7 separate regions of the Homo sapiens genome follow, and regions 1, 2, 3, 4, 5 and 6 are each linked to region 7. The links are contacts of gene promoters, found by promoter capture Hi-C in human tissues and cell types (Jung and others, 2019). All regions are on one chromosome and are shown on one strand. The core of a region is centred on a gene start or on the middle of the fragment in contact, and the rest is flanking DNA. Distances in the headings are between cores, read along the strand shown. Region 1 has its middle 16 kb from the start of SPRYD7. Region 2 overlaps DLEU2 (deleted in lymphocytic leukemia 2). Region 3 overlaps DLEU2 (deleted in lymphocytic leukemia 2). Region 4 has its middle 26 kb from the start of MIR3613. Region 5 overlaps CDADC1 (cytidine and dCMP deaminase domain containing 1). Region 6 overlaps CAB39L (calcium binding protein 39 like). Region 7 holds the start of EBPL (EBP like).

The links. The method cuts DNA at HindIII sites, captures the fragments that hold promoters and counts their contacts. A contact is called where the count stands out against the background at its distance.
Region 1: a fragment that was not itself captured here is called in contact with the fragment with the promoter of EBPL in region 7 in 2 of the 25 tissues and cell types used here (IMR-90 fibroblasts and aorta).
Region 2: a contact is called between a fragment that was not itself captured here and the fragment with the promoter of EBPL in region 7, in 1 of the 25 tissues and cell types used here (hippocampus).
Region 3: a fragment that was not itself captured here is called in contact with the fragment with the promoter of EBPL in region 7 in 1 of the 25 tissues and cell types used here (aorta).
Region 4: a fragment that was not itself captured here is called in contact with the fragment with the promoter of EBPL in region 7 in 1 of the 25 tissues and cell types used here (hippocampus).
Region 5: a fragment that was not itself captured here is called in contact with the fragment with the promoter of EBPL in region 7 in 1 of the 25 tissues and cell types used here (dorsolateral prefrontal cortex).
Region 6: a contact is called between a fragment that was not itself captured here and the fragment with the promoter of EBPL in region 7, in 1 of the 25 tissues and cell types used here (lymphoblastoid cells).

Annotation. Positions count from the first base shown.
Region 1 is chr13:49,950,960-49,954,225 of GRCh38, reverse strand. No RefSeq gene overlaps it. Among named protein-coding and RNA genes, the nearest start is that of SPRYD7, 16 kb to the right of the region's middle. The HindIII fragment of the contact is 5,612 bases long and covers 1-3,266 here.
Region 2 is chr13:50,098,449-50,101,503 of GRCh38, reverse strand. All of the region lies in intron 1 of DLEU2 (deleted in lymphocytic leukemia 2), which reads left to right. All of the region lies in intron 2 of DLEU1 (deleted in lymphocytic leukemia 1), which reads right to left. It also overlaps the pseudogene RPL18P10. Among named protein-coding and RNA genes, the nearest start is that of DLEU1, 18 kb to the right of the region's middle. The HindIII fragment of the contact is 3,724 bases long and covers 1-3,055 here.
Region 3 is chr13:50,075,252-50,078,517 of GRCh38, reverse strand. It overlaps DLEU2 (deleted in lymphocytic leukemia 2), which reads left to right. Exons shown (of 14, transcript NR_152566.1): 2 at 2,865-2,959. Among named protein-coding and RNA genes, the nearest start is that of DLEU1, 5.3 kb to the left of the region's middle. The HindIII fragment of the contact is 4,740 bases long and covers 1-3,266 here.
Region 4 is chr13:49,969,194-49,972,165 of GRCh38, reverse strand. No RefSeq gene overlaps it. Among named protein-coding and RNA genes, the nearest start is that of MIR3613, 26 kb to the left of the region's middle. The HindIII fragment of the contact is 5,900 bases long and covers 1-2,972 here.
Region 5 is chr13:49,250,137-49,253,394 of GRCh38, reverse strand. The region is part of intron 2 of CDADC1 (cytidine and dCMP deaminase domain containing 1); the gene reads right to left. Among named protein-coding and RNA genes, the nearest start is that of CDADC1, 3.8 kb to the right of the region's middle. The HindIII fragment of the contact is 5,612 bases long and covers 1-3,258 here.
Region 6 is chr13:49,363,620-49,366,827 of GRCh38, reverse strand. All of the region lies in intron 5 of CAB39L (calcium binding protein 39 like), which reads left to right. Among named protein-coding and RNA genes, the nearest start is that of CAB39L, 79 kb to the left of the region's middle. The HindIII fragment of the contact is 5,875 bases long and covers 1-3,208 here.
Region 7 is chr13:49,690,194-49,693,222 of GRCh38, reverse strand. It overlaps EBPL (EBP like), which reads left to right and starts at 1,737. Exons shown (of 4, transcript NM_032565.5): 1 at 1,737-1,969. The coding sequence starts at 1,799. RefSeq lists silencers at 1,612-1,811, 1,842-1,981 and an enhancer at 1,445-2,442. The HindIII fragment of the contact is 15,697 bases long and covers 1-3,029 here.

The sequences.
Region 1 (3,266 bases), core at 302-2,801, 260 kb before region 7:
AAAAATTAGCCGGGCGTGGTAGCGGGCGCCTGTAGTCCCAGCCACTCGGGAGGCTGAGGCAGGAGAATGGCGTGAACCGAGGAGGCAGAGCTTGCAGTGAGCCGAGATGATGCCACTGCACTCCAGCCTGGGCGACAGAGTGAGACACTGTCTCAAAAAGAAAAAAAAAAATTTTTTTTTCTCTCCCCTACCTGATGCGGTGGTCCCAAGACCACAGCTGCAACTACAAGTGCTAGAACAGCAAGGGTGAGTTCTAGGCAAAAAAGCCTATGTTTTTAAAGCTATGTCAAAATTTCTAAGGGCAGATGGGGGTGGATTGTGCCTTCACCCCATCTAGCAAAATTGGGGCTAAGAGTGAATGCAGCTATATTGCCTGGTGTTGAAAAGAGCTCACTAGTTCTGTACCTGTGTAACCTTACCCTATGTGAATGGGAGTGAGATACTTGCTAGACCTGTATTGAGGAGGAGATACTTGCTAGACTTGTATTGCTACCTGCAATCTAGACCAGCATAGTGGTGATTCTAATGTCCCTTCCAAAGGTGAAAAGGTTTGGGTATTAATGGACAGAAGGAAAAATAATAGCTGAGAGTAAATAAATAAATAAAGCTGGGCACATTGGCTCATGCCTCTAATCCCGAAACCTTGGGACATCAAGGCAGGAGGACTGCTTGAGCCCAGGAGTTTAAGACCAGCCTGGGCAACACTGGGAGACCTTATCTCTACAGGAAAAAAAAACAAAAACAAAAAGTAGCCAGGCATGGTAGTGCATACCTGTGGTCCCAGCTACTCAGGAGGCTGAGGTGGGAGGATCACTTGAGCCTGGGAGGTTGAAGCTGCAGTAAGCAGAGATCATGCCACTGCACTCCAGCCTATGTGACAGAGCCAGAACCTCTCTCAAATAAATAAATGAGTTATTAATTGAGGAAAATTCAATATCACATTAACAAGTCAAAAGAGTCTCAGGGCAAGAGATGACATTTTCTCGTAGCTCAATTATTCCAGATGCCTGAAAAGGTGAAGCTGTGTATTTACCGAGGCCACTTCTGCTTTTGGAACCTGACAAGATTGAGAGGAAACCTGTAAACCCGAGTGGCCTCATCCTGGGAATCATTCGAACAGTATAATGGGCTGGATTGATTATTAATGATTGTGTATGTATGTATACATAATCATTAATAAAACATATATTTTATGTAAAGGATCCATGGTTGAAAACCAGAGGATGGCGTGTGGTGTTACGCTATATATTGGTTTTTGTCCACAGTTCCTGGCTCCAACTCCCATAGTGCTTGTTACAGTTTTTTGTTAGAATATTGGGTGGGTTAGGGCTGGGCACGGTGGATCACACCTGTAATCCCAGCACTTTGGGAGGCCGAGGCAGGTGGATCACTTGAGGTCAAGAGTTCGAGACCAGCCTGGCCAACATGGATAAACCCCATCTGTACTAAAAATACAAAGTTAGCTGGGCATGGTGGCACGCACTTATAATCCCAGTTACTTGGGAGGCTGAGGCAGGAGAATTGCTTGAACCCTGGGGGTGGAGGTTGCAGTGAGCCAAGATTGTGCCACTGCACTCCAGCTTGGGCAACAGAGTGGGACTCCATCTCAAAATATATATATATATATATATATTTATATATGTGTGTGTGTGTGTGTGTGTATATATATACACACACACACACACATATATGGTGGGTTAAGACTCAGGGGCAGGCCTCTGACCTCCCACCCTCCTTCCACTCTAATGTTCCCCAACCTGTCTGATTATAGATCTTAAGACCTTCTCATGAGAGAGTACCACCCTATACCCTGGGGGAAGGAATGCTGATGTCATGAAGCTTCCATTACAACCCAAGAGGACAAGGTTCAGTGAGTTTCTGGATAGCTGGAGGTTTCTGGAGGGTGGTGCATCCAGGGAGGTGCATCCATAGAAGCTCCGCACCCCTTCCCGCATACCTTGCCCTACCTATCTCTTCATGTGTATTTTTTGTAATATCCTTTATAATAAACCCGTAAATGTAAAAACAAAACAAAAAACAACACAGTTTTCTCATATTATAGTTCTAGAGTTTAGAAGTCTAAGGTGGGTCTGAGAGGCTGTGTCAAAGGCATTTGAACCAGAGCAACTCCGTCTTGAATAGGGGCTGGGTAAATGAGGCTGAAACCTACTGGACTACATTTCCAGACAGGCATTCTAAGTCACAGGATGAGATAGAAGGTCGGCACAAGATACAGGTCATAAAGGCCTTGCTGATAAAACAGGTTGCAGTAAAGAAGCCAGCTAAAACCTACCAACACCAAGGTGGCAACAAGAGTGACCTTTGGTCGTCCTCACTGCTACACTCCCACCAGTGCCATGACAGTTTACAAATGCCATGGCAACATCCGGAAGTTATCCTATATGGTCTAAAAAGGGGAGGCATGAATAATCCACCCCTTGTTTAACATATAATCAAGAAATAACTATAAAAATGGGCAGCCAGCAGCCCTCAGGGCTGCAGTCTAAGGGGTAGCCATTCTTTATTCCTTTACTTTCTTTTTGAGATGGAGTCTCACTCTGTCGACCAGGCTGGAGTGCAGTGGCGCAATCTCAGCTCACTGCAGCCTCCACCTCCCAGGTTCAAGCGATTCTCCTGAATCAGCCTCCCAAGTAGCTGGGACTATAGGCATGCACCACCATGCCCAGCTGATTTTTGTATTTTTAGTAGAGACGGGGTTTCACAATGTTGCCCGGTCTGGTCTGGAACTCCTAACCCCAAGTGATCCACCCACCTTGGCCTCCCAAAGTGTTGGGATTACAGGAATGAGCCATCACGCCCAGCCAAGATGGGTGGATCACCTGAGGTCAGAAGTTCGAGACCAGCCTGGTCAAAATGGTGAAACCCCATCTCTACTAAAAATACAAAATTAGCCAGGCGTGATGGCTCATGCCTGTACTCCCAGCTACTTGGGAGGCTGAGGCAGGAGAATCGTTTGAACCTGGGAGGCAGAGGCTGCAGTGAGCCAAGATCACACCATTGCACTCCATCCTGGGCAACAAGAGTGAAACTCCATCTCAAAAAAAAAAAAAAAAAATCTCATAATGTTTTAGGAAAGTTTACAAATTTGCAAATTTGTGTTGGGCCACATTCAAAGCCATCCTGGGCCACATGCAGTCTGTGGGCCACAGGTTGGACAAGCTTGTTCTAGAGGCTGTCCACATTCCTTGTTCCACAACACTCCAACCCCTGCTTCCATCATTACATATCTGATCATCCTACCTCCC
Region 2 (3,055 bases), core at 295-2,794, 410 kb before region 7:
AAATGCTTGGGACCAGAAGTGTTTCAGATTTCAAAGTTTTTTGGATTTTCTGAACATTTATATATATATATATAATAAGAGATCCTGGGAATAGGACCCAACGTATTGGGTCATGTTGGTGCTCAAAAAATTTTGGATTTTGGAGCATTTTGTATTTCAGATTAGGGATGCTCAACCTGTACTGTTAATTTGGTTACAGTGTTGCTTGAGTTTACTATATCCTTGTAAGTTTCTACTTGTTTTAGCAATCATTTAAAGAGGGGTATTGAAATCTCTAACTATGGATTTGTCTGTTTTTCCTTGCACTTCTGTCAGTTTTTGATTTACATATTTTGAAGCTTTTATTATTTGAGACAAAACCATGTAGGATTATTGTATCCTTCTGATTAACCAGCCCTTTTATTATTATAAAATGGCCTTCTTTATTCCTGGTAATATTATTTGCTCTGAAATCTACTTTATTTCATGTTAATATAGCCACACCAGTTTTCTTTTGACTAATGCCAGCATCAGTATGATATATCTTTTTCCATCCTTTTACCTTTTTTTTTTTTTTTTTTTTTTTTTGAGACAGAGTCTCACTCTGTCTCAAAGTGACTGTACTTTGAGTCACTCCAGGCTGGAGTACAGTGGCGTGATCACCACTCCCTATAGCCTTGACTTCCTGGGTTCAAGCTATCCTCCCACCTCAGCCTCCCAAGTAGCTGGGACTACAGGTGTGCACCACCACACTTGGCTAATTTTTTGTGGAGACAGGATCTCACCATATTGCCCAGGCTGGTCTCAGACTCATGGGCTCAAGTGATCCTCTTGCCTCAACCTCCCAAAGTGCTGGGATTACAGGCATGAGCCACTGTGCCTGGTCATCCTTTTATTCTTAATGTTATTATGTCTTTGTGTGTAAAATGTGTTTCTTTTTCTTTTTTTTTTTTTTTTTTTTGAGACGGAATCTCGTTTTGTCTCCCAGGCTGGAGTGCAGTGGCATGATCTCTGCTCACTGCAACCTCTGCCTCCTGCATTCGTCCAATTCTTCTGCCTCAGCCTCCCAAGTAGCTGGGATTACAGGCACCCATCACCATGCCTGGCTAATTTTTGTATTTTTAGTAGGGACGAGATTTCGCCATGTTGGCCAGGCTGGTCTTGAACTCCTGACTTCCGGTGATCTACCTGCCTTGACCTCCCAAAGTGCTGGGAGCCATCACACCCAGCCTAAAATGTGTTTTTTTATTGAGAGTATATAGTTGGATCTTGTTTTTTATTTTCCTTTCCCCCACCATCCAAAATTTTTTGTTTCGTTTTGTTTTGTTCTAAGACAGGGTCTCACTCTGTCGCCCAGGGTGGAGTGCAGTGGCACGATCATGGCTCACTGGAGCCTTGACTTCCTGGGCTCAAGCGATCCTCTTGCCTCAGCCTCCCAAGTAGCTGGGACTACAGGCATGTACCACCACACCCAACTAATTTTTTTTTTTAATTTTTTATAGAGATGGAGTTTCACTTGTTGCCCAGGCTGGTCTTGAACTCCTAGGCTCAAGTGATCTGCCCTCCTTGGCCTCCCAAAGTGCTGGGATTACAGGGATGAGCCACTGCGCCCAGGCCAAAATCTTTTTAATAAGATAGAGGATCCAGGGTTAGTTTTTGTAGCCTTGGCTGGCCCATCAGCCTCTGATGTGCTTGAATTTCTGGTCCCTGGAGTGGACACAGGGCTTAGTGTGGCTATGCTGGGTTCCCAGGGCCTTGCTGAAATGCCAGTACACTTCTTGGCCCTTGTGAGGCCCAGAGAGCAGGATGGTGCCACAGCCTTTGAGGGTGTCCAGGGTCAGCTGGTCAAAGGTGAGAATCTTGTCCCCAGCCTTGGGGATTTGGCTGCAGGCCCAACTGCTCATGTGCAGTGCACACACCTTCAGTTTGGGCACCTCCTGAACATGGTCCCCACAACCACAGCTGTTTTGTTTTCCTGGCCAGGAAGCTTCATCTTCCAGATCATCCAGGAAAGAGACAGAGATGGCCATTTGGTGCAACTCATAAATAACCTCTTCACCACAACTTGGTTGAAGGTAGAGTTTCTTCTGGCCAGAAACATATACAGCTTAACCAACAGCCTTCAGTAGATGTCCTGGCTCTTGGGTTCCTGGTGTTGAACCTTTCAGTCATTGTTGTGGCAGGAGTCAACTTCCGTGATGGTGCCTCCTGTTCATCCAGGTCCAAAAGCAGTCTTGCTTTTTATCTGACAATCTTTGCCTTTTAAGTGGGATATTTAGATAATATGCATTTAATGTGATTGCTGATATGATTACAGTCTATTGCCTTGCCATTTTTCTATTAGTTTCACTACTTATTTGTTCCTTTTTCCACCTTCTTTTGGGTTGAGTATTTTTTTGTGATTCTATCTTATCTCCTTTGTTGACTTATTAGCTATAACTGTTTTGTTATTCTACTGGTTGCCCTAGGGCAGTATACATCTTCACCCTACCACAGTCTACCTTCAGTCTACCTGATGGTAAAGAGTTGTTTTCGTATGTCTGAAAACATCTTTATTTTGCCTTTGTTTTTTGAATGATATTTTGCTGAGGTTAACATTTTTTTCTTTCAGTACTTTATGTTCTACTGTCTCTTCACTTGCAATGTTTCTAATGAGAAATCTGCTGTCAACCTTATCTTTGTTACTCTATAACATGTGGCTGTTTTCCATATTTTTTATAATTGGCTTTGAATAATTTGATTATGACATTCCTTGGTGTAGTTTTCTTCTTGTTGAGCTTCTTGGATCTGTGAGTTAATAGTTTTTGTCCAATTTGAAAATTCTGGCCATTACTTTTTCAAATATCCCTTTTGTATCTGCCTCTCCTCTCCTTTGATGCCTCTGATTATGTTTACATAAGGATTCTGTAAGTTTGTCCCATAGCTCACTGATGCTTTTGTCATTCTTTTTTCTCTTTCATTTTTGAGTAGTTTCTTTTGCTATATCCTTCAAGTTCACTAACCTTTTCTTCTGCCATGTCTAATCTGCTACAAATACCATTAGTAGATCTCAGATATTGTAGTTTTCATCCCTAGA
Region 3 (3,266 bases), core at 538-3,037, 390 kb before region 7:
AGTCATTTATTACCATAGGAAAGCAACTGCGGGGTGTGGTGTTGCTATAATAGGTCACCCCTTTTTAAAGTTATGTTTACCTATTGTGGGGGAAAGGGGACTGGTAAGGTATCAGTCTTCCTGGTAGCATTGATTTTCATTTGTTTGCCCCCACACTATTTTTAAAAATTCAAATAAAAGTGCAGTTTCAGACTTTTTAAAAAAATACTGTTGACCTGTCTTAGTTGTACATTCAGAAAATGTAGCCTCGGGTGTTTGTATGTAACACTGCATATTTTTTCTAATCAGATTAATATGAGTTTTAATGTTTAGCATGAACTACAGCTAAGGATAAAAATTTTAAAGTAGCTTTCATAGTCTAGATTCCTGGTTTCATCATGCTTTATGTAGTACATTTTCGTTTGTTTTGTTTTGTGGAGACTTGTGTGTATTTTTGTTTGTTTGTTTGTTTATTGGTAGGTAGTAACTATTTGGAATGTCACAGAATACTTAAAGCCAGAAATATGGGTCAGTTGATTTGGTTTACAAAATGAAAAAAAATTCCCAGAGACTGTATTAGATAATTATTATATATGACACATTAGCTTTCTTCAAAAGAAGATGATAAATTTATAGTTTCAAAAAATTATTCTATAAAAATTTCTCTTATTTTAAAATATTACCTAAAATTGGCTCTTGTGTTTTTTTTCTTCTGTCTAATGAAGCTTAAAAATTCACATATTAATTTCTTTTTAACCCCTTTTTAGAAGACACAGATTTTAGGTCTGATTATAACTAGAAAACACATCTTAGAAAAAATTGTCATATATATAGTTTCGTGGGGGTTTTTGGTTTTGTTTTGTTTTTAATTCAGCAAACTTTGAAACATTGTATGCCAGGCAACTAATTTTGGCACATAATTAGAGCTCAACTATGACTTGCTGAAATTTTGTAGCCCCAAATCTCATAACACCAAAGGAAATCAGTAATAAAATACCACTTTATTTCAAATAAGCATTGAAAATGAGATTAAGCATTTAATTTTTGGAAGTGACAGTATTAGAACTTTAATGTCATGATTGTCTTAAGAGTAACAGGATAGATTTTTAGAATATCACATTACTATTATATGTTTATTTATCTCGTAGATCATATAAATATTACTTTCTGGTGGGGAACTGAATGTTTTTTATTTTTTTGCCTCGGTTGGTTTTTTGTTTTTATTTTTTGATCTGTATTAGAGATGCTTTAAAGGATCTTCCTTTTAGAAAGACAAGTTTTAAATATTGAAATTGATATTAAATATATATTTGAATATTATTAATATTTCTTATCAAATTATAAGAAGTTTACTATACCTTTGGTTAATCCTGCCTTATTTCAGTAAAGAAAATTTGTACTGGAATAACTTGTAGTGGTTTCTAAGAATAAATAGTAAGCTCTATTTTGTAATAGATTTTAGATTTGAGTTTTACTATTTGAAGGTTTTTTAATATTGCCTTTTTTATCATACACATTGGTTTATTATTTTATTTATATCCAGACCTCTTTTGCTTCTTATTGGTTAGTATTTTTCATCTCCCTACTATTTAAAAACTTAACATTTGGCATGTAGTACATTTTGTTTTCTACTATTTTCCTTCTATGATTTTTAAACTTAAGATACCTTAATTTTCAGAGTGCTCAAATATAGAAAACTGTCTGTCTTTTGAGGAAGACTGTGTATAAATGACGGTAATTTTTTAAAATGTCATGGTATTTGGATTGGTGTTTATGAGTTATGGATGATTGTGTGGGTTTTGTCATTAAACAATCAAATATTTGGCAACAGAGGAATAAAGGTTTTTTTAGGTTTTACTCTTTCATTTTCCTAAGCTATTCTTAAATATAACTGGAAAATTTATTCAGAGCATTATGATTTACATGTAATACATGATACACCTTTGGTAATTTAATATTTTTATACAGTCGATTGCCACTGAATCATTATAATTCAGAAAGGTGAAAGAAATGAAAAAAAACACTTAACATATATTCAGTTACATCTCTTAGAAACATTAAAAAACCATTTGGTCCAGTAGTGGTCCATTTATTATTTGTAAATATGTTAACTTGTTAAAAAAAAAAAAACTCCACATTTTGGTCTGTTAGGACTGTAATGTATTAAAATATTTGGAAATACTGATACTTTTCACTTAGGCTTGGCAGTAGACTAAAGTTGAAAATAATGGTAAATTCTTAGCCAGGCATGGTGGCAGGCACCTGTAATCCCAGCTACTCGGGAGGCTGAGGCAGGAGAATCCCTTGAATCCAGAAGGCAGAGGTTGCAGTGATCCTATATCGCACCATTGCTCTCCAGCCTGGTCAACAAGAGCAAAACTTCGTCTCAAAAAAAAAAAAAAAAAAAAAGAATGGTAAATTCTGTCATCATTAAAACATTTGATAATTTGGAGAGAAAGTAAAATTTCGTCCCTGTCCCTTCAGTAACTTTTTAAACTGTGTGGATTTTATGAGTTTTACAAGTACAAACTACATTTCTGATATTTTCTTTATGAACTCCTCTTGTACCAGTCCTCTAACAGCTACCCGCATACACACTCACCCATACTACTTTGAACATGAATGCCCTAAAGAGAAATGAAAGCAGAAACATATTAATCTGATTTGTTTGAAGAGGCTTCGGATGATAAAGCATATCACAGGTGTTTCTAATCAAGTTATTTCTATTTTTAAAACATTTTCAAGTTAGAGCTTCTCTGAACATTGGCAAGATTAGGGTCATTTTGAAGACCATACCTCTGTGTTCAGGGATCAACTGTGGAACTGCAGGAGATGGAAATCTGTTGAGTGTCTTCATGCTATAATACATGACATTTTTATTGCAGGTTTTGACCTGTAGCAGAGAACCAATTCTGGAGAACAGCCTCACTTCTTTGATTGAATACTTACATAATGCATTGGAACATGACATGAGATTAAGGTATACTAACAAATTTTAAAACCATATAATTTTATGTCTTTGCAATATAATCGGACTAGACAATTGGTAAAGTTGAAATTTTTACGTGAACTAAAATCAATAAGTAATTACTCATAAACAGAAATCATCATATGAAGTGGCCATAAGCTGAGTTGTCTAGCTTACTAAAACTCCAGATTTTTTTTTTATACAGGTAATGTTCTTCTCAGCATCCTAAGGTCTAACTCCAACTGAATTTATTCCAAAAATATGTATTTATAGTAATTTTTATTTTCTTAAGGTTATTACAGTGTACTCAGTAAAATAT
Region 4 (2,972 bases), core at 247-2,746, 280 kb before region 7:
CGCCTAAATAACTCAGCATGTATATCATTGACTAGGTTAAATATTTGTTGACTTTTTTCTTTTGAAGTAAAATATGTATACAATGAAATGTATAAATCTTATGTGCTTGTGTGTAAATTTCCAAGTTTTAATAATAATAAATGCCTATACCTTTGTATCCCAAATTGCTATCGAGACATAGAACATTACTATCACTTCAGAAATTTCCTTTTTTTTTTTTTTAATTGAGACGGAGTCTTGTTCTGTCACCCAGGCTGGAGTGCGGTGGCACAATCTCGGCTCACTGCAGCCTCAACCTCGGGCTCAAGCAGTCCTCCTGCCTCAGCCTCCAGAGTAGCTTTTTTGTAGAGACAGGGTTTCACAATGTTGCCCAGGCTGGTCCTGAACTCCTGGGCTCCAGTAACCTGCCCACCTCTACCTCCCAAAGTGCTAGGATTATAGGACTGAGCCACCGCGCCCGGCCCCATAATTTTTTTTTTGAGACGGAGTTTTGCTCTTGTCGCCCAGGCTGGAGTGCAATGGCTTGATCTTGGCTCACTGCAACCTCCGCCTCCCGGGTTCAAGTGATTCTCCTGCCTCAGCCTCCCAAGTAGCTGGGATTACAGGCATGCTCACCACACCTGGCTAATTTTGTATTTTTAGTAGAGATGGAGTTTCTCCATGTTGGTCAGGCTGGTCTTGAACTCCCGACCTCAGGTGATCCGCCCACCTCAGCCTCCCAAAGTGCTGCAATTACAGGCATGAGCCACCACACCCAGCCGATAGGCCCCATAATTTTTTTAAGTCTTTTTTTTTTTTTTATTGCTGGGGGTACAGGACAAGGACAATAAAAATGTTGAATCTTCAATATATTCTGATTACAGCTTAAAATAGCTCAGGACAACTTGCAGGAGGTGTTACATCGGGGAAGCTATCATTGCGGGAGGTATTATACATCATCTTAAGAAATTATCTCAGGCCAAGCACAGTGGCTCACGCCTTTACTCTGGGAGGCTGAGGCAGGAGGATTGCTTGAAGCTAGGAATTCAAGACCAGCCTGGGTGACATGGCGAAACCCTGTCTCTACCAAAAATACAAAAATTACCCCACCATGGTGGCACACGGCTGTGGTCCCAGCTACCTGGGAGGCTTAGATGGGAAGATGGTTTGAGCCTGGGAGGCAGAGGTTGCAGTGAGCTGAGATTGTCCCATTGCACTCCAGCCTGGGCAACAGAGCCAGACCCTGTCTCAAAAAAAAAAAAAAAAAAGATCTCAAGTAATGAGATCTAGGAGAATGATTACGTGCTTACTTGCTATTCTCAAACTTCAGTCTCCAGTTGAAGAAAAGGCAAACATAAACATAGAGCCTCAGCAAACCTCTTTCCTGTTTCACATGCAACCTCCATTGACAGACACTCAGAAGGAATAGTGTTCACTGACACCCCCACCTTCTGTCCTATAACTCAAATGGCCTAGGGGCCTGCGACTGCTGGGCTCTAGACTGCTCTGGGGAGCTTTCTGTACTTTTTCTAATGCCTAGGCAAATTCAGTTCTTAAAACCAACAAGCCAATAAGTCTTTGTTCCCCTCAAATTATGTTTGAAGCAATTCAAAGTGCTAAGTATATATCTTAATAAAATAAAATTTATATTACCAGATTGGATCTTTATGTAATGAGCAGTTTGTTGTTGTTGTTGTTGTTTTTAATTGAGATGGAGTCTCGCTCTGTCGCCCAGGCTGGAGTGCAATGGTGCAATTTCAGCTCGCTGCAACCTCTGCCTCCTGGTTTCAAGCGATTTTTCGTGCCTCAGCCTCCCAAGTAGCTGGGATTACAGGTGCCTGCCACCATGCCCACCTAAGTTTTTTGTTTGTTTTTTTTTTTTTGAGATGGAGTCTCACTCTGTCGCCCAGGCTGGAGTGCTGTGGCGTGATCTCGGCTCACTGCAAGTTCCGCCTCCCGGGTTCACACCATTCTCCTGCCTCTACCTCCCGAGTAGCTGGGACTACAGGCACCCACCACCACGCCCGGCTAATTTTTTGTATTTTAAGTAGAGACGGGGTTTCACTGTGTTAGCCAGGATGGTCTCCATCTCCTGACCTCGTGGTCCGCCCGCCTCAGTCTCCCAAAGTGCTGAGATTACAGGTGTGAGCCACCGCGCCCAGCCAATGAGCAGTTTTCTATGCAACATTTCAGATGCAGCTTCTGGCTTTAGAACGTGGAACTTCAGTCTCATCTGTGCAGTACCTGGACATTGTGATATCATTAAAAAATACCGTATTAAAATACACTTTTAAAACTTTTATTATGGAAATTTTCAATCACACACAAAAATAGAATAATCAATCCTCCTGTACCCATCACCCAGCCCCAATAATGATCTTCTTAGGAAAATGCATTTTAAGATTCACCCATGTTTTTGTATGAATCAGTAATCTGTTCCTTTTTATTGCTGAGTAGTATTCCATTATATGGATTATCACAATTTATCATTTTCGATTGCTCATTTTGGGAAAATTATGTATAACTAGTCATATACATGTTTTTGTATGAATGTAAGCTTTCATTTCACTTGGATAAATACCTAGAAGTGAGATTGCTGGGTCACATAAGTATATGCTTAACTTTATAAGAAACTGCCAAATTTGTTTTTCCAAAGTGGCTGTACCATTTTGTATTTCCACCAGCAATGAATGACTCTGTTACTCCACATCAAGGCCAATATTTTGTATTCAGTTCTTTATTTTAGCCATTGTAATAGGTGCATAGTGGTATCCCATTGTGGTTTTAATTTGCATATCCTTCATGACTAATGATGTTGAATATCTTTCCCTATGTTTATTTGCCATCCATACATCTTCTTTGGGGAAGACAGACATTTGCACAGTTTTAAGTTTAATTATTTGTTTTATTATTGTTATGGCTAAAGAGTTCTTTATATATTCTAGATACAAACTCTTTATTGGATATGTGATTTGCAAATATTTTCTCCTTGT
Region 5 (3,258 bases), core at 108-2,607, 440 kb after region 7:
TCTTATGTTAAGTGAAAAGGGTAGGATCCAGAGTTAAATGATCTCATGTAAGTAAAGAAAGTAAGAGAAAAAAGACTGAGAAACAATTTTTAAAAAGTAATTAGTCTCTAGGAGGTGGAATTATGATAAAATTTTTCTTCTGTCCATTTTAAAAATAACAAACATATATTACTTTGGTAACTCATAAAAATACTTTTAGTAAGACAAATGTTGGTAAAGTATCAAAAGCAGTATTTCCAATACAATTACATGTCTAATTGCATCTTGGTATTTCTGTGATTTACTCTGTACAACAAAAGCAGACTAAAGAATTTAAGTGAAACAATCTTATTACTTTAGCTTAAAGAAGACTTTTTTTCTCTTAATTGGAAAAAGTTTGTACTCAACTCTAAGAATACCATGTGCAAATAATACTGGAAAAAATATACTATAGTAAATGGTAAAGAAATATTAGGCACAAAATTGGGCAACATTTTGAGAAATTTAATATTTCCACAAGTATAAACACAATGGCAGCATATACTACATGCATATGAAATTTAGATGTATTCTTACTGTATAATTTAAAATTAATAACTTATCAACCCTGTAACAGTACCAAAACTGTCAAATACAAAATTGTGTTCCTGCTATGACTGCAACTACCTGCAAAATTATGTGGATATTAACTAGTACAAAAAGGAAATCCAAGAGAAAAAAATAGTTTTTAAAAATGTTGCAGCTATAAATTCAGTTTCAATGATAATGTTTGTACAATAAATAACACTATAAAAGTGGAGTACAATATGCTCCCTTTCATTCTGTATTCTTCCCCCACACTATCATTGGTCTTGCTTTTTTGCAATGGCCATGATATCAGAAGAACTAATGAAATTATATACTTCTGCTTTATTGACATTAAATATACAAGTAATTGACAACCTACAATCATGTTCTAAATACTTGGTAAATCTCCCTTTTCGGAATTTAAAACACATTTTTCTCATATAAACAATGTTAAAAATGATAGTCAAGTTCCCAAGTTAACATGCAAAAGCCTCTTTCACCCAGATCACTGCCAGAGTAATCCTGAGGCTCTCCCTCCCCAAGTGCCTTGGAGTCCCAAGCCCTGTAGGTAAGAACAGAAGTAAAGGCCTACCCAAGACCATGGTGAGAGGGTTGTAGTCCTAGGACACATGGGTATGGGAGCACAGCTGGAAAGACACCAATGCAGTGAATAGGAGCTGGGCATGCTCCAGGACCAGGAGCTAAGAGTGATAACCTTTCATATAGCCAAGTCAATCCTAGTTCCAGGTTGCCTGGCTTTCTGAAGACATGGATGTTCTTTGTTTTGATGCCTTCTGTACTCATTTCTATGTGTTATAACTTTCCATTTAAAAGCCTTAAATAGACATGCGTATGAGTCAGATTTCTAAATAAGATCCCAAATAAAATATCTGAAACAAAAGACTTATTTATTTTCATTTAGAAAACTTCCATGGTGCCCACCAGATGAAGGAATGAGATGCCAGGAAAACTTAAGAGTTGTTGGCTTGGGAGAAAATGAGAGTCATAACCTTGATCTTTTGTTAAACATGATATAAAGTTGTATAAAATTTTGTTGCTAATATAGTTTTGAAATTTCCTTGGTAGTATTTTTTTTAACAAAATGCTAACTGAAAGCTTCATCTCAGTTTTCTCAGATCCACAGCTTTCTCTATATAGTATGAGGAAACAGTAGGGTGTGTATTATTTGCAAATAAACTTCAACAATTAGTTGGCCAATCAATTCCTTCCTAATAGAAACATAAATGTCATTTCTCACTAATTAAATACAACTTGTGCCTGTTGAAAAAAAAAACTTAATTTCAGCACAGGATGTGGTGTGTATATAAAAAAACAGAACTAAAACGAGATCACATCTGGATATTTACAAAAAAAAGAACGCCTTTTCAAAATTTGTATTCAATCTCTAATATGTCCAGTTTTTATACGTTTTTTTTTCTTTTTTTTTTCTTTTTTTTTCTGTCGCCAGGCTGGAGTGCAGTGGCGTGATCTCAGCTCAATGCAATCTCTGCCTCCTGGGTTCAAGTGTTTCTCCTGCCTCAGCCTCCTAAGTAGCTGGGACTACAGGCACGCACCACCACGCCCAGCTACTTTTTGTATTTTTGGCAGAGACGGGGTTTCACCATGTTGGCCAAGATGGTCTCGATCTCTTGACCTTGTGATCTGCCTGCCTCGGCCTCCCAAAGTGCTGGGATTACAGGCATGAGCCACTGCACCCGGCCTAAAAGTCTTAAACCTCTAAATATTTGTTTCTAATCTGGCTCTTCAAAATAAATTTTATCTGAAAACAAAACAAAACAAAACAAAAAAAACACAACACTACATAAAATCCCTAACAGCTTGGAAATCTACTTTCATAAAATAATACTAAACTATTAACAAGTAGAAGGAATAAAGGAATTTCAAAATTAATGAAGGAAATGAAGAGCTTTCTCAGCCGTTAATAACATGTAGAGCCAGAGTGGGGGGATGAGGGTGAGAAATATGGAATAACGATGTATAATATTTTAAATAATGTTTTACTATCTATAAAACACTTCACATAGGAATTGGGGGAGGAAACTACACCAAGAGATATCATTTTATTATGAGAAGCGAATATCCTCACATCCTGTTAAAATTCCTCAATGCAATTCCTATATTGATAAGATAAAATCTAAACTCCTTTGCAAGGCATACAATGCTTTTTATGATATGATTCCTGTCTACATTGTCAAGCTCCTTTCCAGTCTCTTCCCTCTACCTAACTTCACTTTCTGGCCTGAGGACCACAAATTCTCTCATTGCTCCAAGCTTTTCCATGTAGAGTTCCTTGGCTTGGGCAAAAGTCCACTAATCCTTCATGTCTCAGTGCAAATACGACCTTCTCTGTGAATCCTTCCTTCACTTCCCCATATAGAGCCTGGCTCCCAGTCTTGCCAACATCTCTGCTTATACTATGTACTCACTCCACCAATTCTGTTTTAATTGTTTAAATGCCTAGTGTTTCTACTCATTAGAAAATAAAGACCATGTTTTTTCTGCTTTGTGTCTCCAGTGCCAAGCACAAAACCTCATCCACAGTAAAATGAAAAGAGTAGGTGGTCTCCTAAGAGTACTGTGGGAATTTAAGGATTTATAGTCTTTCTCTGGAAAATCTAAAGCAACCTTTCAGCAGAATTATGGGCAAGTTGGAAACCTCAGCGAGTACATGCAGAATATAACTACAACTTT
Region 6 (3,208 bases), core at 348-2,847, 330 kb after region 7:
GTCAGGCTGGTCTCGAACTCCTGACCTCTGGTGATCTGCCTGCCTTAGCTTCCTAAAGTGCTGGGATTACATGTGTGAGCCACCATGCCTGGCAGATTGTTTGTTTTTCATACTATTAAGTTTTTTGGGCTTTGATGGGGGGTTGGGTTTTGGAGGGAGGGTGTTTGGAGAGCATGGGTTTTTTTTTTTTTTTTTTTTTTTAGACAGAGTTTCGCTCTTGTTGCCCAGGCTGGAGTGCAATGGCACGATGTCAGCTCACTGCAGCCTCTGCCTCCTGGGTTGAAGCGATTCCCCTGCCTCAGCCTCCTGAGTAGCTGGGATTATAGGTGCGTGCCACCAAGCCTAGCTAATTTTTGTATTTTTAGTAGAGACGGGGTTTCACCATCTTGGCCATGCTGGTCTCAAACTCCTGACCTCGTGAGAGCATGGGTTTTTATTTATTTCTTTTTTCTCTTTTTTTCTTTTTAATTTTTGTGGGTACATAGTAGGTAGTGTATATGAGATATTTTAGTACAGGCATGTAATGTGTAATAACCACATCATGGAAAATTGGGTATCCATCCTCTCAAGCATTTATCCTTGGTGTTACTAGATCTTATTCATTGTTTCTATTGTTTTTTGTACCCATTAACCATCCCCATCTCACCCTGACACACTCCCCTGCTACCCTTCCTAGCCTCTGGTAACCATGCTTCTATTCTTGATTTTCATGAGTTCACTTGTTTTAATTTTTAGATCCCACAAATAACTGAGAACATCTGATGTTTGTCTTTCTATGCCTGGTTTATTTCACTTAACATAATGGCCTCCAGTTCCATCCATGTTGTTGCAATGACAGAATCTCATTCCTTTTTATGACTGAATAGTACTTTATTGTGTATAGGGTACCACATTTTCTTTATCCGCATTTTCTCATCTGTTTTTGGACATTTAGGTTGTTTCCAAATCTTGGCTATTGTGAACAATACTGCAACATATATGGGAGTGTAGATATCTCTTTGATATACTGATTTCCTTTCTTTTGGGCATATACCTAAGAGTAGGATTGCTAAATCATATGGTATCTCTATTTGTAGTTTTTTGAGGAACCTCCAAATTATTCTCCATAGTAGTTGTACTAATTTACATTCCTACCAACAGCATATGAGGGGTTCCTTTTCCCCACATCCTCACCAGCAATAGTTGTTACCTGACGTTTACATGAAAGGCATTTTAACTGTCGTGAGAGGATATCTCGTTGTAGTTTTGATTTGCATTTCTCTGATAATCAGTGATGTTGAGCACCTTTTCATAGAAGGCCTGTGTTCTGTAGGTTTTCTCTTCACTTTGTTGATTGTACCCTTCACTGTGCAGAAGCTTTTCAATTTGATGTGGTCCCATTTGTCCATTTTTGCTTTGATTGCCTGTGCTTGTGGGGTTTTGCTCAAGAAGTTTCTGCCCAGACCAATGTCCTGGAGAGTTTCCCCAATATTTTCTTTTAGTAGCTTCATAGTTTCATAGATCTTAGATATAAGTCTTTAATCCATTTTGATTTGATTTCTGTATGTGACAAGAGATAGGGGTCTAATTTCATTCTTCTGCATGTGGATATTCAGTTTTCTCTGCACTATTTGTTGAAGACTGTCTTTTCCCCTCAATGTATGTTCTCAGCACCTTTGTAAAAAATGAGTTCACTGTAGGTGTGTAGATTTGTTTCTGGATTCTTTGTTCTGTTCCATTGGTCTGTGTGTCTATTTTTATGCCAGTATCATGCTGTTTTGGTTACTATATAGCTCTGTAGTATAATTCAAAGTCAAGTCATGTGATTTCTTCAGTTTTGTTCTTTTTGCTCATGATGGTTTTGGCTATTCTGGGTTTTTTGTGGTTCCATGTAAATTTTAGGATGGTTTTTTCTATTTCGATGAAGAATGTCATTGGTATTTTGATAGGGATTGCATTGAACCTGTAGATTACGTTGGGTAGTATGAACATTTTAACAATATTGTTTCTTTCAATCCATGGACACGGAATATCTTTCCTTTTTTGCATGTCCTTTTTAATTTCTTTCATCCATTTTTTTATAGTTTTCATTATGGAGATTTTTTTACTTCTTTGGTTAAGTTAATTTCTAGGTATTTAATTTTATTTGTTGCTATTATAAATGGGATTTCTTTTTTGATTTCTTCTTCAGATTGTTCACTGTTAGCATATAGAAATGCTACTGATTTTTGTATGTTGATTTTTGTATCCTGCAACTTTATTGAATTTGTTCATCAATTCTAATAGTTTTTTTGTGGAGTCTTTAGTTTTTTCCAAATATAAGGTTTTATCATCTGCAAACAAGGATAATTTGACTTCTTCCCTACCAATTTGGATGCCCTTCATTTCATTCTCTTGTTTGATTGCTCTGGCTAAGACTTCCAATATTATGTTGAATAACAGTGGTAAAAGTTGTCATGCTCCAAATCTAAGATCTGCTACTGTTGTATTGGGATCTGTCTCTCACTTTAGCTCTAATAATATTTGCCCTTCATTTCATTCTCTTGTTTGATTGCTCTAGCTAAGACTTCCAATATTATGTTGAGTAACAGTGGTAAAAGTTATCATGTCCCAGGTCTAAGATCTGCTATTGTTGTATTGGGATGTGTCTCTCACTTTAGCTCTAATAATATTTGCTTTACATATCTGGGTGCTCTAGTGTTTGGTGCATATATATTTACAATTGTTAAATCCTCTTGCTGAACTGACTCCTTTATTATTATATAATGACTTTCTTTGTCTCCTCTTACAGTTTTTGTCTTGAAATCTGTTTTGTCTGATGTAAGTATAGCTACTCCTGCTTGGTTTTGTTTGTTTGTTTTCATTAGCATGGAATATCTTTTTCCATGTCTTTATTTTCAGTCCATGTGTATCTTCATAGGTGAGATGTGTTTCTTGTAGGCAGCAGATCATTTGGGTCTTGTTTTTTTTTCATCCATTCAGCCATTCTGTGTCTTTTTTCTTTTTCTTTTCTTTTTTTTTTTTTTGAGACAGGGTCTCACTCTGTCATCCAGGCTGGAGTGTAGTAGCACAATCACAGCTCACTGAACCATTGACCTCCTGGGCTCAGGTGATCCTTACACCTCAGCCTCCCAAGTAGCCACTTTATGTCTTTTGATTGCAGACTTTAGTCCATTTACATACAATGTTATTATTGACAAGTGGGGGCTTACTCCTGCCATTTTGTTAT
Region 7 (3,029 bases), core at 488-2,987:
AACATCATCTTGCAAATCAAACTATCCGAATAAATAACACTCCACTTTTCCCCGCGCCCCCCCCCCACTCCCGCCCCGCCCCACCCCTGGTAACCATCATTCTATTTTGTTTCTGCAAATTGATTATTTTAGATATTTCCTGTAAGTGGAATCATAAGTATGTTTTTGTGACTGGCTTATTTCACCGACCTCATAGGGTTGTTGTGATGTTAAATAATGTAGGTTTGTTCCCGGACCAAACTGGGGGTTGGGCAGCCCAATAATGAGGTGCAGATGAACTGGGGAAGAAGAGTTTTTATTTCTGCAACCGGTTACAGGGAGAAGGTCTGGAAATTATTGCCAGACCAACTCATAATTACAAAGTTTTTCCAGAGCGTATATACCTTCTAAGCTATATGTCTACGTGTAAGAGTGCATTCATCTAAAGACGTAAGTGATTAACAACTTCTAATCCTGAAGACCTTCCTCTGGAGCCTCAGTAAATTTACTTAATCTAAATAGGTCTGGGTGCTGGGATGATTACCCTTATTTTGTCTCTTGCTAAATCATGGAGGCTTGTGGAATTCCTCCAGACTCCCAATAAACTTGTTTTTGGAGGCCTGGGGAGTTTCTTCAGACCCCCAATAAAACTTGTTTAATCCTAAACGGGTCCTGTTAAAAATTCCTTAGTTATCTTGTCATGCTTCAAGGCCCAAGAAAGGCCTAGGCAAAACTCTTGGTGGGCTTTTGTTACATTCCAGACTTTGGTATATGGGCACTGACTCTTTCAGCTTTTAATTTTTTTTTTGTTTTTTGAGACGGAGTCTCGCTCTGTTGCCCAGGCTGGAGTGCAGTGGCGCGATCTCGGCTCACTGCAAGCTCCGCCTCCCGGGTTCACGCCATTCTCCTGCCTCAGCCTCCGGAGTAGCTGGGACTACAGGCGCCCGTCACCACGCCCGGCTAATTTTTTGTATTTTTAGTAGAGACGTGGTTTCGCCGTGTTAGCCAGGATGGTCTCGATTTCCTGACCTCGTGATCCGCCCGCCTTGGCAAAAAGTGCTGGGATTACAGGCGTGAGCCACCGCGCCCGGCCTCAGCTTTTAATATTTAATTTAACCACTCAGTGCTGAAGCAGTTGTGATGGAGGCCTGCGATAGTGAAACCTGGCCTGCCACAGGTTAAACGCATCTATCGCCAAGCCAATAGGACTTACCGCTCCTCTCACCCACCCTTCTACTTTTCTGGATTTTTAAGAAATGGAAAGATTGTCAGAGTAGGCCATAAAGGCTTTAAGCCGGCTGGTGGCTGAAAACTCCCTTGGCCCCCAGCCTCCCTGGTAAGGCTTGCTGCAGCCTAATTAAAACCTTTTGCCCCTAAAATTCTGCCCCGGTCTACTGGCAAAATTTCCACTACCTAGGCTTCACTTTGTGGCTTAAAGTTTGAGCCTTGTTAAAAGCGAAACAACATCAAAAGGTGTGGCCCTATTACCAATCCTTTGGGCTCGGTTTGGGAACAGGTTTGGTCGAGGCGGTTGCGCAAGTTGGTGAGCACGTTCCTTCTACGGAACCTCCATGGGCGGCACCTGGCAAAACCACCGGACTCAGCAGGCTGGCCAGGGTGCGAGGCGGGCACGGAATCCTCGCTCTGGCCCCGACCCGGCCGGGGAGCCCCGTCCCTCCCCGGACCGCCTTGGCCAATCAGCTCCGCTCCTCCTTGGCCATCCGGCTCCGCCCCTTCCCGGCCAGCCCCGCCCCGTCGTTTCTCTCCCTGCTTTCCTCTGCCGCATGGTCCTGGGCCGTTGGCGTCGGAAGCCTGAAGCATGGGCGCTGAGTGGGAGCTGGGGGCCGAGGCTGGCGGTTCGCTGCTGCTGTGCGCCGCGCTGCTGGCGGCGGGCTGCGCCCTGGGCCTGCGCCTGGGCCGCGGGCAGGGGGCGGCGGACCGCGGGGCGCTCATCTGGCTCTGCTACGACGCGCTGGTGCACTTCGCGCTGGTAAGTGCCATCGCCTAGACCCTGCACTCCCCATCCCAGAGAGTGGGAGCGGGGGCGGCAAGGCGGGGTGAGGGGGTCCTGCGGCTTTTTGCAGCGAGCTGGCCGCCCCTCCCCCTGCTGCAGGAAGTCTGTTAGCTGAGAGGCGCCTGGAGGCCGCGGCGGCCGGAGTTCTGATTCCCAGGTCTGTGAACAGAGCGCAGCTTACCTTGTGCTGCCGATTCCTCCACCAAACTTTAAAAAAATTCTGTACGTGCTATGTTAGTTTAGAAGATACCTCAGCTTCCTCGGCTTTGTAACCTGCACGTAACTGTTGAACTGGACATAATTGAGAGTAGAATTGAGGTCATTTTTAAATGCCCCAGAGGGGGCAAGGAGAGATGCTTGCTCCGGAGGCAGCAAGGCTATTGTCGCAAAACCCGAAGCCTTTGCCAAGACAAACGAAACACCCGTGTCTAATGTGTGCCAGGCGCATTACTGAGTTTAAAATTTCAGATCTTTACAGCATCCATAAATTAGTTATTATTGTTCCCCATTTTACAGAGGTGAAGGTAGGCGCTGCAAAATTAGGTGACTTTCCAGTGCCACACAGCTGGCATGATTCTGAGGCAGTCTAGTCTGGCTCCCAAGTTTGCACTCTGTGTATCAGTCGAGGTCTTAGGAAATATGTGTCCTTAGAGATTCAACCCATTTTATAAAATAGCCAGGAAGGTTGTGTTTAAGGCATTTATATTGAAATGCCCCGCCCCCCACCACACACGCGCACGCACACACACACACACACTTTTAAGTTTTTTTTAAACTATGCCCAAGTATCAGTTTGTTTTTTTTTTTTTTTGTAAAGTTGACCTTGTTTAACTCTAGACACACCTGTGGCTAATGTGAAGCCAAAGTCAGTAGTATTGAGAAAGCAAGCCGAGTTTTGGGTAATCATCGAGTTCTGTAAATGTTTACGGGTTGGCTTTGTGCCCATGACTGATGTTGCTGGAATTCTTTTTATTCTGATAATCAACATGTAGAGATAAGGGACAGTGAATGTTTCTCTCAACTCCTTTATTTATAG